2 separate regions of the Homo sapiens genome follow, and region 1 is linked to region 2. Evidence: promoter capture Hi-C in human tissues and cell types (Jung and others, 2019). All regions are on one chromosome and are shown on one strand. The core of a region is centred on a gene start or on the middle of the fragment in contact, and the rest is flanking DNA. Distances in the headings are between cores, read along the strand shown.

Region 1 (7,781 bases), core at 1,374-3,873, 75 kb before region 2:
TACCGCGCCCGGCCCAGAAACAGTTTCTTAAATCCCTGTTGAACATTCCCTAAACATATATAGGTGTTTTATTTTAACTTTAGGTCAAACGAGCAAACAGCACCCAATTGAGTAATAAAGTGTTTTTCTGTGAGTACTAATTTAAATAATGACACACCTTCATCCTGCCGCAGGAGCTGTTGTCACCATCACCACGCCCGTGAACATGAACGTGGACAGCCTTCAGTCTCTGTCCTCGGACGGGGCCACCCTGGCGGTGCAGCAGGTCATGATGGCAGGGCAGAGCGAGGACGAGTCTGTGGACAGCACAGAGGAGGATGCGGGTGCCCTGGCCCCTGCCCACATCAGCGGGCTGGTCTTGGAGAACAGTGACTCCCTGCAGTAGGGGCAGGAGCAGACGCACCTGACTTTTTGGAGTTTGCACAGCAAACATTTTACACAGTTTTATTTCTAATATGTTTTATATGTAGATATAGAAGAGTGCACTTTTGTATTTCATAGTAAGCTTAAAGCGCGTCTTTGCCGGTGCAGCGACTTCTTTCAAGTGTGTGTGTGTGTGTGTGTGTGTGTGTGTGTGCGTGTGTGCGTGTGTGTGGATTTTTAAAGAAATTCTTTAAAGGTTTAACGCTAGATTGTGAGGAATGACACACCACTCCCTCCCCACCTTGAATCCCTAATTAGATTAAGGAATAGCGCTGCCATTTTCTAAACCGTGATGCGGTTGTCACTTAGTTCTGTGGTTCCAGCAGATCTCAGTGGGCTGGTTGATTTGTGTGGCCCATGGATTTGAAAGAAGCTGCTGCACCCGAAACTGCCAGTGTGCGGTGACAACGGCACACGCCTAGACTGAGTGTGGTTTCGTCGTGAGTGGATGGACGGCAAGCTTAGCAAGCCTAAGTCCCCTCATGTTCAGTGAGCCTGTTTCATTTGCTATATAGAAAAAGAAACTCCTATTTTTACCTTGCTGGAATTATTGGATAAAAAAGCTATTTTTATAAATTCGTTATGAATTGGATGATGACTATATTGAGGATAAAATTTCTAGAGAAGAAACAATACATGCTTGCTATTAATATTTCAATTTGGAATGTTCTGAATTGACCAAATTTAATGAACCTGCCCAAAGTTAGCTACCGTTCCATGGTTCTTTGCTCTCCCCGGGTAGTGATGAACATTTACTACTATAAAAGAAACAGCTATTTAATGAAATTTTGATATCTGCAAATTTTTGTTGATATGTAATGCTCAGATTGCATTTTACACTTGATCTAAACATATATCGAAAGATATCTGCTAAACAGGACTTCAGGTAAGTGAGGTGAAATGGTAGCCAGTGACCCGTTAGGAGCTCTCACCGTACATACTCCAGTCTAATTTAAATCTGACCACAGTTGCATGGTCGCTTTACCATGTTAGCTGTGTATTGTTTTAAAAGTTTTAACTTCAAAATATGTTATGCACAGAATGTTTATTATAAACTAATATAAAATGTGCTCTACCCCATTGGCTCAGAGCTAGGGCAAACAGCAGATATTCAGACTTTATTACTTAACTAGCGGACATCCCTGGAGTCCCAGCAGCGAGCTGGTCTGGCGAGGGCACCTCGGCAGCCCCCACGGGTTGGCTCCTACGTTTGCGTTTGTGGCTGGTCTCCTGGTGTCAGTGTTCTCTTGTACGTTGTTGCTTTCGACTTTTCAGAGCCCTCCTGCTCACTTGACCACGTGAGATTTGGAATAACTGTAGGACTTCTGTTTCCTGGTAACAAGATGAACCGAGAGAGTGGGCTGGGTTCTGTTTTCTTTGGTTTTGATTTGTTTTCATTGTTTACTTAGGAGTGGTGCTTTTTCTCAGAAAACAGGCCACGGTGTTTCATACAGAATGTCTTCATATCATCTGAAATGGTATGGCTGAAGTTCATTTGTTTACAGGGTCGGGAATGTCTTCAGTTCTTGAGAGTCAACAGTAATGATTGGTTGTAAGCCAAGGGACATTTTAAGCTAGTGAAGAGTTTTTTCTGGAATTGATTTTTCCCAAAAGAATATATTAATTGAGGTTAAGAAGTCAGTGGGAAACACACAGAAATTTGTTTTAAAATCTTTCAGGAGCTTTACTGAAAGACTTGGTTATCAAGTCTTTTGGGGAGAGAATGACATTTTTTTTTTGAGACAGAGTTTTGCTCTTGTTGCCCAGGCTGGAGGGCAATGGTGCAATCTCAGCTCACTGCAACCTCCACCTCTTATGTTCAAGCAATTCTCCTTCCTTAGCCTCCTGAGTAGCTGGGATTACAGGCATGCGCCACCACACCCGGCTAATTTTGTATTTTTAGTAGAGATGGGTTTCTCCATGTTGGTCGGGCTGGTCTCGAACTCCCGACCTCAGGTGATCTGCCTGCCTCAGCCTCCCAAAGTGCTGGGATTACAGGTGTGAGCCACCGCGCCCGGCCGAGAATGACATCTTAAAGCCACCATTGCGTTCCTCATTTGTGAACTGTCTTCTCATATTTTAAGTCAAGTCTATAAGATCATTTTTAACCTAAGTTCCAACTTTGTTGGACTCCTTAAAATAAGCACCCATGAAAGCCAGCCAGCCCTTCCTCCTTCCCTCACCACCCTCCGTCTCTTCGGCTGCTTGCTCTTTAGTGTAGATTAGTGGAAGCCATTCACAGAATGTAGACTCATGTATAGGTCACCGTTTCTTTCCCCCACTAGAAATCACATTCACTAAGCAGTGGATTGAATTTAAGAGTGCTGCCCCTGCCCGGCGCAGTAGGGCGTGCCTCTAGTTCCAGCTACTCGGGAGTCTGAGGCAGAGGATGGCATGTGCCAGGAGTTTGAGGCTGCAGTGCACTATGCTTGCACCTGTGAATAGCCACTGCACTCCATCTTGGGCAACACAGTGAGACCCCCATCTATAAAAAGAGAGCACTGCCTGAACCTCGGTGGCACTGGGAAGCTCTGGCCTGAGAGTTAAACACCCATGCTGAATGATACAGTGTGCATTCTCTCCAGCTGCAAACTTTCTTCAACTTTCCTAAATTCTTACTAAATTCAGAGGAATAGGATAAAGATCACTTAGAGAAAGGGTGCTTATGGACATAGCCTGAGTTTCCTTTAACCTCTCTGCAATGGGTGCTTTTAACTAGCTTCTACATGGCAAGCTGTTTCAGTTTGCAAAATCACTGCCCAGCATGTTTGAGGTCAGTTGGCACCTTAAAACACCTGTTCTCCAGCCCTTGGACAGTGGAGAGAATCTGTAAAAGTGTGACCCCCTCTAAGATTTCGTTTTAAATGATCAGATTCGGTTCCAGTTTTATTCTTGTTGAGTTTTTCCCTATGAAGGCTCCTTTTGAATGTGTCTTGAGACCCAAATTGAGCATGTTGCTGTTATTCCTGCCCTGCACCTGTGGAGCAGGAGTGGCAGGGCTGGCTGTGCTGGGTTCCAGCTCGCTCCCACCGAGGGACTAGCTTGGCCTTTGCGCTTTGATTCCAGATAGTAAGATGAGTGGAAGTGTTTATCGAGCATGCAAAAGAAACCCTCACGGCTAAGGGCTCTGGGAGTTGTGTCTGTGTGACCTGAGAGTGATCCATCTCCTGCCTGTGTGAGGTAGCAGTGGGCACTTTTCATTGAGACAAACTCCAGGGTGTCCAGAGGGGGTTCTGCCCCTTGTGAAGGCCCATTCCTGGCACTTAGAGACAGAAAGAACTCAGCAATCTTTCGTTCTAGTTATATTCGGTCTTTGAAACTGACAATCTTTGAAATGTGAATACTGTAACAATATGTTTTCTTGGATTGTTGTCTTTAAAAAGGATTTTTGTGAAGCAATTGATTTATCAAAGCAAAAAAATTAAAAATAGAAACTTGCTTTATGGATGTTTTATTTTATAAAGCTCATGTCACCAAAAGCTGCTTCTCCATTTTATGTAAAACATTGAGAATGTTTTCATGTTTTCTGGTGACATGTAGGGTCTGTAGTCACCCCTGCATATTGAGAAACTAGGACCACACTGCATCGGACTAGTCAGGTCCATTTACATGTCCAAGAATCTTTTCTTAAATTCCTTACTTTGTTCATTCATTGGCTGTTCAGGCAGAAAATGGAAACAGGTAGCTTTTATGTTTTTTATTATAGTTTTCCACAAATCTAATTATTTTGATAGTTACAAGAAGATAATGATTCATCAGTAAGCTAACATAATCCCTTTCATAGTTCATATTATAAATTTTCATGACAAGAAAGTTCCTGAAGATTTAAAAGGTACATTAAAACAATTTCAGAGGGTTTTTAATCTTTGTTGTCCAGAGTGTTATAACTCCCAACAACTGTTCATGCTTAGAGGCTAAAGTCAGCAGACTTAGTATTTTAAAAACCACATGCAAAATTATGAGTCTTGTTGGTAATTAGTAGTGACAGCTGACTGTATTGTTTCAAGCAATGTTTTCATTGGTTACAGAAAACTGAGGCACTGTGTTGTATTTCCAGCTCCCTTAGTTCAGAGGTGAGAGGACGGGCATGAACTTTATTAATGTGGGGCCTCAGGCAGCCCCAGTCTCTCTAGGCTTCCAGGGCTTCATTTATGAAAAGGAAGAACTGGCTTATAAGGTTTATTCTAGCCTTACAATGATGTTTATGACTAATAAGATTCTATCTCTCCATCTAAAGACTGATGAGGAAGTGAGTAATGGTCTAGCAAATCCAGAAAATAAGAAATATTTGGATTAAATATTTAGTGTTTCACAGTTTTTGAATTATATGAATGTCATAAACAATGTCTACTGTTTTTAGCTTTCATGCCATTCTATTATGTATACTCTCAGAAGAAATTCTTAGTACAAGGCCGGGCGCGGTGGCTCCCGCCTGTAATCCCAGCACTTTGTGAGGCCAGGGTGGGCGGATCACCTGAGGTCAGGAGTTTGAGATCAGTCTGGCCAACATGGTGAAACCCCATCTCTACTACAAACACAAAAATTAGCCAGGCATGGTGGCAGGCACCTGTAATCCCAGCTACTCGGGAAGCTGAGGCAGGAGAATCTCTTGAATCCGGGAGGCGGAGGTTGCAGTGAGCTGAGATTGTCCCACTGCACTCCAGCCTGGGGCATAGAGCGAGACTCTGTCTCAAAAAAAAAAAAAATTCTTAGTACAAATTATTTTTGCCCTTGTACAGTGGGATATTTTTACCTTCACTAAGACCTAGGATAGTTGTTTAACTATCATTGTTTATAAAATCTGCGAGACTAGTGACTATATAGCATCTAAGCACATGTGACTGAAAGCAGTGAATGCCCGGGGTGGCATCTGGGCCTGGGGCCAGCTTTTCCCAATCCCACGTCTTCACCATGCAGCCCAGGTCGGGTCTGGCACCTGCAGGCTCCTCTCTGCCAGGCCTCCTCAGGTCTGGCTTTTGTAGTCTATAAAGGACTAGTTAGTGTTGCTTACTTGGATAATTTGTAAGTATTCTGTATAAAAATCGTATTTAGAAGGTATTATCTTATACAGATGTTTCCATTCTTTATCTCCCACAGCAACCCACACTCTCATGGCTTCTGCTGCGGGAAGCGCTCCTTCCTGGGATTCCCTGGCACAGTTCAGATGAGTATTTCTCCACCTTCACTGGCTGCTCTCCTCTAGCTCCACAGTCTCTACAACCCAGGTCTACACTAACACACAAGACAATGTAAACTGTTAAGGGCTTCACAACTTATTTCTGACATGGATTGCTGTGTTAAGATAATATGAAAGAAAACTCAGTGAATATAAAGTAAAATATTTTAAAATATAACTGATTTTTCTACAGGCCATTTTCTAAAAATGTCTAAGCAGCTAAGGACTTCAACCCTGTAAAAAGCAAGAATGGTTTTAATATAAATCAGGAATTCTAGACCGGGCGTGGTGGCTCACACCTTTAGTCCCAGCACTTTGGGAGGCCGAGGCAGGCAGATCACCTGAGGTCAGGAGTTTGAGACCAGCCTGGCCATCACGGAGAAACCTGGTCTCTACTAAAAATAAAAAAATTAGTCGGGCATGGTGGTGGGTGCCTGAAATCCCAGCTACTCGGGAAGCTCAGGCAGGAGAATCGCTTGAACCCAGGAGGTGGAGATTGTAGTGAGCCGAGACCACGCCACTTCACTGCAGTCTGGGCGACAGAGCAAGGCTCTGCCCCAAAATAAATAAATAAATAAATAAATAAATAAATAAATAAGGAATTCTTTTATTCCAGCATCTTTCAAAAGAAACATTTTAGGCTGGGCGCAGTGGCTCACACCTGTAATCCCAGCACTTTGGGAGGCCGAGGCCAGTAGATCACAAGGTCAGGAGTTCCAGACCAGCCTGGCCAGTATGGTGAAACCCCGTCTCTACTAAAAATATAAAAAATTAGCCGGGCATGGTGGTGCATGCCTGTAGTCCCGGCTACCCGGGAGGCTGAGGCAGGAGAATTCCACGAACCCGTGAGACCGAAGTTGTGGTGAGCCAAGTTCACACCACTGCACTCCAGCCTGGGCGACAGAGCGAGACTCCGTCTCAAAAAAAAAAAAAAAGAAAAGAAAAGAAACATTTTAATGACAGCTTTAGTTGCTTAGACATTTTTAGAAAATGGCCTGTAGAAAAATCAGTTATACTTTAAAATATTTTACTTTATATTCACTGAGTTTTCTTTCATATTATCTTAACACAGCAATCCATGTCAGAAATAAGTTGTGAAACCCTTAACAGTTTACATTGTCTTGTGTGTTAGTGTAGACCTGGGTCATAGAGACCGTGGAGCTAGAGGAGAGCAGCCAGCGAAGGTGGAGAAATACTCATCTGAACTGTGCCAGGGAATCCCAGGAAGGAGCGCTTCCCGCAGCAGAAGCCGTGAGAGTGTGGGTTGCTGTGGGAGGGTAGATGGCAGGAGGACATGGGGCTGGGCAGCCGGGAGGGACTCGTGGCCTGGGAGACAGCAGTGAAGAGGAGAGGGGAGAGCAGAGGCAGGCGCCATGGGTTCTGGGCATGGCCGTGAGCCACTGGAAGATGATACGGGAGCTTATCTTTGTTCCCTTGGGGAAGAAGCCCTTATTTTGAGACCTCAAAGGCATAAATCCTAAGGCAAAATATGGGTGATTTGGCCAGATCAAAATTCAGTTTTTCTGTGCATTGGAGGACACAGAGGACCATTAACAGGTAGTGACTGAGAGGAGCACTTTCCTCGTTCCTTCTTTTTAATGGATAAAGCCGGCAAGGAGCCAGTGTTAGGGGGATTCCTGCAACTCAGCAGGTAACCAACTAGAAGTCTCTAGAACCATGACAGCGGATATTAATAGTTCATTGAAAGGAGACCAGATGACCAAGCAGCACGTGAAGACTGCACGGCCTCGCCACGCCCAGGGAGTGTGAGCTGGAGCCCAGGGGCGTGCCGCCCCGTCTGCCGGCCGCAATGAGGAAGCTGGGATTGGGGATCTGCAGAAACGGGAACTTGCGTGGTGCTGGCGGGAATATCACGGGGCCAGCCATTCTGGAATGAACCTGACAGGACAGTCATGTGTCACTTAACAATGGGCTGTGCTCTGAGAAATGCCTCTGTAGGGGACTCCATCCCGTAGGAACATCACAGCGCACTCACACAGCTCACTGTACACACAGCCTGTGCGGCTTAGCCTATTGCTCCCAGCCATGGGCCTGTGCGGCACGTGACCCTGCTGACTACCCTGGGCAATCGTAACATAATGTAAGGATTTGTGTGTCTAAACAGCTAAATTGGCCGGGTACTGTGGCTCACGCGTGTAATCCCAGCACTCTGGGATGCTGG
Region 2 (7,767 bases), core at 5,194-7,693:
TCATGACAAATGTCAATCAATGGAGGTGGCCGGGCCAGTGACCCTCCCTAGAAGGGATAAGCCTCCTGAACGTGGCCAAGTATCAAGTTCTTGCTGTGTGCGCCAAGGAGTTCCAGCACCTTGTCCTGTTTGCAACAGCTCTATGTCAGCAGCTCAGAAGCCAACATTATTTGTCTCAATTAAGAGTGGGCTCTTTAACACCATTGTTTTAAAAAAATTTCTCCAACTGTGGGACTTACAGTGTGAGCCGTCAGCCGTCTGTGCACTGTTTTGGGGATTACGATAGATGTTTTGAATCAAGATGGTCTGCGGGGAAAAAAAAATAAAAAGGGGAATTCTACTGGCTGCTGTGCATATATTAGACAATTGCAAAGAGACAATTTGTTTGCAAATGGCTAAACGTTTGTTTTTTTCCCGCAAGTCAGACATTTGTCTTCTGAAGAGTACACCAAAACCATCATATTATGAAAACAGAGTTTGAGCAGTGACTTGGGTCAAGTCAGCCAGCAACCAAGAAGAAACTGTATTGTTTTGATTAGTCCCACGTTTTCAATGTTAAAGTGTTTTAATGCAAGATAAATAGTAGAATACTAATATTTTCTTGTACTTCAAGCTAGCAGACACCAAGATGTGGAAAAATTCACGTTATAATCATATTCCTCACACAAGATAATTTTTCAAAACCAAATGCGTAACTCAGCTGTCTGCAGTACATCAAGTTCTCTGGTCTCCTAGCAAAACAGGCACACCAAACAGGTCTGTCAACTGTCATGGACACCCGGCTCTGATTTACACTTTCTTGGTGGGATCTCTGTTTACATAATACAATAGCTTAAAACATTTGCTCTTTTCCGATCCTTCTTTTAAGGAAAAAAAATCCTTTTAGCCCTTGTGCTTTAAACTGGATCAGGCAGACTTGAAACCTTACACTGTACCGTTCTTCTTAAAATCAAGTTGTCTGAAAAAACAAACCATGTTTAAGTTAGTAGGCTAATATATTACATGAATCTTAACGTCCATATCACTGTAAGCAGCTTATAAAGAAACCCACCCTGAATTATGCTAGAGATTTACAAGCTAAAGCAATCACTCGCATGATTTAGAAAAATAAATGTTTAGTCTCAACAATATCCACGTGAAGCAGTTTTGTAAGTGGTGGTTTTATAAAACCAGCCAGCTCCATTTCTAGCTCTGTTTAAAGGGGAGTGGTTGTATGAAGAGTTCCTCAGTCAAAGGTGTGCAGCTGGGAAGCCCACCCCACCTAAGAGGGAGGTCTGACAAACTGTCCACACTGAACCACTCAGACCTGCATCAGGGCCCCGTTTCTTCCATAAGCCGCCAAGTACAGCCCTGAGTCAACTGAACTCAGGCCTGGGAGGCTTCCCAAAGCTGACTTGACTCAGCTTTGAACTGAAATGACCGTACCATGACAACCCTGATGAAAAGCTAAACTGAGCCCAATTATTCAACAGTAAAATTCAGTTGGTCTCACTCAGGTATTCTGGCAGTGGCTATTTAATGAAGGAAGCTTAACGTAAAGAGGCAATGCAGTCTAATGGGAAAGCCAAGGGTGGCTAGGATTGCCTAAAACCAACCAAAACAAACCCACGCATCAAACTAGGATGCTTAAGCTGACACATACTACTGACCCCATCGAGCTCCAATGGGCTCTCCCCAGCACTGACCTGGAATGCCTAAATTAACTTCACATTTCACATTCTCAGGTAATCTATGATCCAGAAAAACATAAAGAAAGTGCCTCCAGCCAGATTAAAGAAAACTTTTAGAATAGGGAACAGTTGATTTCTCTCAGCCCAACACTTGGGACACCCCCCAAAATCAAAGAACTGGGTGGTCACTTAAGATGCTTGGTTATACCACAATCCATGGCCACTGGTTTAGTTAGGGGAGATTCGGTTCATAAATCAAAACATTAAAGAAAAAACAATTGCAATACACAGAAAATGTAAAGCTAGTTCTCCAAGATTTTGAAATTTGTAAAAAGAAACTCATGTTCAGAGCTATCAAAAGACAGACTGCTATTATACTAACCACTTGGTAATTAGCATAATGGAGGGAAAAGCCATCATCCTCTTCCCTTCTAAAAACACTGTGTGCTGTGGGGTCGTCCATGGGCTTCAACCGGAAAAAACCCATGTTTCCTTCTCCCAGCTCACTTACACAAAGTGGTAGATTTTCTTAAATGCTTACAGGAAAACGTATACAGACAGATGTGAGCTCAAAGGCAGAGCCTGGCAGCTCCCAGGGACCACGCATAATAGCTACTCAACAGCTCAGAGGCTGCACATTTAGACTTCAAGGGTGGGTTGGAAGGAGTTCCCCAGCCCTCCATCTGGAAAGACTTGGGCATCGATTTTCAAATTTCAAATGTTCTCATCAACGTGGGCACAAGTTTTCTGCTCCGATTAGAGGTGCCTTCTCCCTTTAATCCGTAAGTGATCCTTTATAGTGTACCAACCTTTGCCTTTTCTTCAACTAACCAAAAATAAAACTATCAAAACTCACAACTTTTGATTGAACTGAACTCAGAGCGGATCTAAGCCCAAGATAACAGGCACTCCTCAATTAACCAAACAGACCCGCTAAGAGCAATTTACGGCCCATTTTCTACCTTTCAGCTTAATTTTTCATGTTTCCATGACGTGATGCGACTCGCTGTTTCCTCAGCTAGGGATGTGAAAGTGAGGACGCAGCCAGAGAAGCTCGAGCAGCATGATGGGCCTGGTGACAATCACGCTAACTTGGAAGGTGGCTCCATCACCTCTACTGTCTGGAGACAGCAAAGAGCAGAAAGCCCACTCCGTGTCCACTGGTGCCTGGAGGAGGCTAACCCAAGGCTGGCACGGCCACCCCCTCTGGACCCATGTCTATCAGAGGGGGTAGGGAAGATGGCAGGGCAGCAAATATCAGGCACAGCCAACACACAAACATCAAAAACTGATTTTTAAAGTTTCTCTAATGATAAAAACAAGGAGTGGTGGTCTCAGACCTTCCACTGGAAGTCGATCACCTGCCTCACTATTATTTAAATAAAAGAACACACTTATGAACACAAATGGAAAATACAACTACGAGAGAAAAAATGACTTGCTTAATATGTAGAAATTAACTGTCTTTGAAAAGAACATGAAGTTTTTATAATTTACATGAAAAAAAGGCAAACAAACCTGGCTAAACGTCGGTTTATTGTGCAACCGAGAGCACCTGTCTCCATGACGACATGCTCCAATTTTGAAATAAAATGAACAGTTGACTCTGTAAGGGAAAATGAGAGCTGATTATTTTGCTGGGAAGATATCAAACACATGGAATATGTCAGCAGCATGACATACACTATCAAATTACTTTTAACCTCACAGAAACATGACACAGACTTTTTTCCGTGGTATTAAGCACCTCCTCTTCCTTGCTGTATTTTAGGACAACGTAACTTCAACTTCCCTTTCTGCAAACACACTACTTGTTCAGCAAAGACGGTTCTAACTCTAACCCGCCTCCTCCTCATTCAAATCCCCTCCACTTTCCTAACTGCACAGCTGTTCTGTTTGTTTCTTAAATGGAGTATTAAATTAGTCTAAAACTAAATGTAACTTAGGCAGTATCTGTTCTCCAGTTCTCCACGACCAAGTTCTCTCTTGAAAACACCGGTGTGGTGAGGGTTAAGATCCCAACTCTGCTACCAGCTGCTTGGGCTTGGGCAAGTCACCCTAGCTCTCAGATGTCATCTGTAAATGATGACAATGCCAATGTGGCACTGTTCTGAGAGTCAGACAGAACGTATGTGTGCTTCACATATGGTGCTCATGAAGTGCTATCATTATCTAAGGAAAACAGAAAACGAAGTTCAGAGTCTCTCTAAACGCATGACACCAGACCAACAGGGAGTTTCAAAAAATAGGTCTGAAGTAAATCAATTCTCCTGGTCTCAATACACTGAAAACAAACTATTAGGGGACTGACCGAACCCACCTTAGGAACCACCTTACGTCACCTTCTGTCTCTACTGCAAAACCCTCCCTTAATACTGTTCAAATACGCTGACAATCCAGATCCATATCCAATGGAACCAGCAATCATGCCTGTGTGCCAGCAATGTCAGGGAGGGAAGCCGATCTCTGATGAATTAGGACATCTTACCAGACAGACTTTGTTCAAAATTCAATTTTTTTTTAACCAAGTGCCATTATGTTTTAAACAGTCAATCCAGAGTTAAGATTGAAGGGCCTCAACCTCAGTGAAATCTAATGGACCATGAAGACTGACTAGCCACTGATTTATTATCAGGTAGCAATAAAGATGGGAAAGTCCAAATTTATCAGGAGAGGAAAGTGATTATATATATTTGCAAACTTACAGGTCTTGAGATTATTTAACTTGATTAGACAATAGCATATCTTTAGGAAGTCATCTAAAAATAAAGAAAGCTTATTTAAAAACTACCTCAGAATGGGCAAGCCCTGGGCCTCAACAATTAATATCCAATTATTCCACACAATTAAACTACAGACAAGCTATTAGGATATCCCTGAATCTAGAAAACATCTATAACTTCAAACATATAATAAGCTAAACATTTTTTAATTGGTAGAGATCTATATTTTATTCTTAGCTTAAATAATAATTAAAGTTAATATGAACCATCAGCTTCATTTTTCAGGAGTTGATCCTGTTCCCTGGAAGCTAAAACCCCACGTCTCCCTGAAAAGAAAACACAAGTAACCTAGATTAAATAATCAACTTTTCTGAATTAAAACCATGACCTTTATAGTATAGCCCAATAGATTGAAATGTGGTTGCTTATAGCAGAAATATAGGGAGATAGACTTTTACAAGACAGAAGTCATGCCACATGCAAATATGAAAAGGAGAAATTAATGATGCCCCGATCCTACATGTGTTAGTTCTTCACCCTAAACTCAGAAGAGTCTCTTGTTCCGATAGAGCTGGTCTATTCATTCGCCAAGATCATACCGTGAGTTCCTTAAGGATAATATCCAAATTTTACCCATGTTTAAGTCTCCAGAAACTGACCTATAGTTGACCCCCACTAAATGTTTCTGGAGTGACTATAACTGGTAGATTTTGGCTTAAAATTTTGCTAGAAATATAGCCTCCTCATCCAAACAACACAGGAGATTCTACCATGTGTGAAGAGGACATTTTACAAGATAGACTCCATCCTGGAAAAGAGAAACATTTTAAATAGCGTTTGAAAAAAGTGGCATTAAAAACATCTATGACAAACTTAGGGGTTTATCATTGAAAACATAAAGTCATGTTAACTTTGTATGGCACTGAAGAATGCCAAGATAACTAAAGAGTAGATTAAGCCAGATGCTGAGTCTTTAGGTTTTCAAAGTAAGAATTATCCTTCAAACGTCTGAAAACATTCCATTTAGTCTAAACTACAGCCAACTCACTGGAAATTAGTACGTGCCAAGGTGGCAATTAAAGCTGAAATTAAATGTTTTGCTTTTAACCTAACGATTGATTAGGGAAGGCATGCAACCTTAAGGAAAAAATCAAAACATCTTTTTCCTTATATCAGAATTGTGTCTTCAAGAACAGTCACCGACTTACAAATTTTCAACTTAGATGATGGGTTTATCGGGGTATTAAAGGCATTTTCGATTCATGATGGGTTTATCGGAACGCAATCCCATGGTAAATCCAGGAGCACCTGTATGTTAAGAGCGGATCACGTCTCTTGTGGTTAGATAGTTAATCCAGTAGTCTCCACCATACTTTTTCTCGTCATATCTCCTTACTGCCGGCCCAGCGGTCGCTTAAACAGGCAAGAGGCTGGCTAAGTGGATAAAACACCAACGCTTAGGACCCTAAGTTAGATAAGCGACTGAATACTGGCGAGGCTGGTACCAGAGCTTGCTCGACAGGACATTCACAGCCGAAAGTTGGAACAAACGTGTCCACGTCCAAAAGGCCCGGATGCTCCAGGCAACTTTCAGCGCGGCTCGAGGCGGCTTCCGGGAGTCGGCGACTCGGAGGCCCGGACGTCGGGCGATCAGCCAGTCCGGACCCCAAGGCCGGAGAAAGCTCGGCCGCGGCGCCCCGAAAAGAGACCCCATTCATTCTGCCCGCTCCAGTTTTCCGCCGCGCGGCCCACGAGGCGGCGGCTCCGGAGGGCGCGCAAGGGGCCGGAAGGGCCACCGCTCCTTCCCGCCGCGCGCCCCTCCCCCGCCACCGCCGCGCCGGCCCGCCTGGGCCTCCCCGGTCGCCCTCCCACCGCCTCAACCACCCTGCGCCCCGATCGCGCCCAACCCCCGGCGGGGGGCTCCCACTCACTTGTCTTTCTCGGTGCCGAAGATGGAGGCCAGATACTCCGCCATTTCCCACCCGCCGCCGCCGCTGCCGTCGACACTGCTGCCGACGCCGCCGACCCTGCCGACGCCCTCGGGAGACGTCACCCGGACGCGACGACGCTCTTCCCCGCCCCGACGTGGCAGCGCTACCCAGTCAGGCGAGGTGCTGCCTGCGCGTGGGCGGGACGCATGCGCGTAGGGAGCACGTAGTGCGCGTGGGAGGCTCCGCCTTTTCGGTCCTGGGAACCCGCGCCCCCTGCCGGTGCCCTCCCCGCCCGGCCCTAGCTCTCTCGCCTTCTCGCCCGCCCGGCGCTGGCCCTGCTGGATCCTGCGCGCCGGGGACTGGGGGCTGGCAGTGCAGACCGAACCCGGGGCCGAGGGGCTTCTCCACAGAGCCGCCTGGGGCTCGGTGGGGGGCGCTCAGCTCGACCCCAGCTAAGGGAGCACTAGGAAGTGCGGGCGTCCCCTTCCCTGCACCCTTGCGGGGCGGGAACCGTCGACCTAGAAGAAAAAAAAAGCTGAGGCAAACTTGATATAAGTAGAGAGGTTATTTGGGCCAAGTTTGAAGATTGCAACCCGGGAGCATAGCTTCAAGTTGCCCTGAACATAGGATTTGCAACAGTGACAAGTGGGTTTATAAAGCTTAAGAGGGGGGCAGTTCTTAAATAGCTCACCAAGAATTTACATGAAAATAACAAGCTATTAATTGGCTGTACGTTGTTCTTTATATCATAATTCCAGGAAAGGAAGTTCATGGGTGAAGGCAGCGGGTCCGGAGCAATAGTGCCTTTAAACAATTGCCAGGCATGGGTGGGGACCGCTGAAGCCGCATAGACCTGTCTCTCCGGGCCGGATTAACCTCGCACGCCTCACATAGCTCGGACGCTCTGTGTTGTTTTTCTCTTCTCACACCCCTCTCCGCTTTACCCTCCCTCAGCGCTTGCCAGGTGCGACCTCCCCGGGGCCCTGCACTCTTGCAGTTGCCTGGCCAAGGCCACCCACAGGTGGAGCTGGAAGGCCAGTGACCTGCCTCTGGGATACCCTTTCAGTCTCCTCATGTCACAAGGCTGGAACCATTCCGTTGGAAGGGTTCTATTCCTCTCCTGCGTTTTAACCCCATCAAGCAGCCATTTTCATCTGGTTTCCCACATTCATCAACTCACCTGCGATTTACCTAATTTCCAACGCAACTATCAACTCTGATTAGGTAGAAGTCAGAGAGACAGGGCCTATTTTACTTACCTCCTCCACAAGATGAGCCCCAGACTGTGGGGCAGGACCATGGGATCCTCTTAGCTCGGCTAGAGCTGAATGCTGAGCTCTAGTGTTTGGGCGGATTTGCGTGTTAGAATTGCATTTCTCTTGGCAACAGAGCATCTTCCTACCTGGGAAAGATGAGCAAACTGGAAACCTGTATTAGAAACAG

What was found. Contacts are between HindIII fragments. The study calls those that stand out against the background at their distance.
Region 1: a fragment that was not itself captured here is called in contact with the fragment with the promoter of U2AF1 in region 2 in 5 of the 25 tissues and cell types used here (H1 embryonic stem cells, bladder, mesenchymal stem cells and 2 more).

Annotation. Positions count from the first base shown.
Region 1 is chr21:43,029,717-43,037,497 of GRCh38, forward strand. PKNOX1 (PBX/knotted 1 homeobox 1) reads left to right here. Exons shown (of 11, transcript NM_004571.5): 11 at 174-4,215. The coding sequence ends at 385. Among named protein-coding and RNA genes, the nearest start is that of CBS, 42 kb to the right of the region's middle. The HindIII fragment of the contact is 5,777 bases long and covers 1-5,512 here.
Region 2 is chr21:43,101,127-43,108,893 of GRCh38, forward strand. U2AF1 (U2 small nuclear RNA auxiliary factor 1) reads right to left here and starts at 6,444. Exons shown (of 8, transcript NM_006758.3): 1 at 6,325-6,444; 2 at 3,189-3,276. The coding sequence starts at 6,368. LOC101928369 (a long non-coding RNA gene) reads left to right here and starts at 6,564. Exons shown (of 5, transcript XR_937770.3): 1 at 6,564-6,969. The HindIII fragment of the contact is 4,947 bases long and covers 2,987-7,767 here.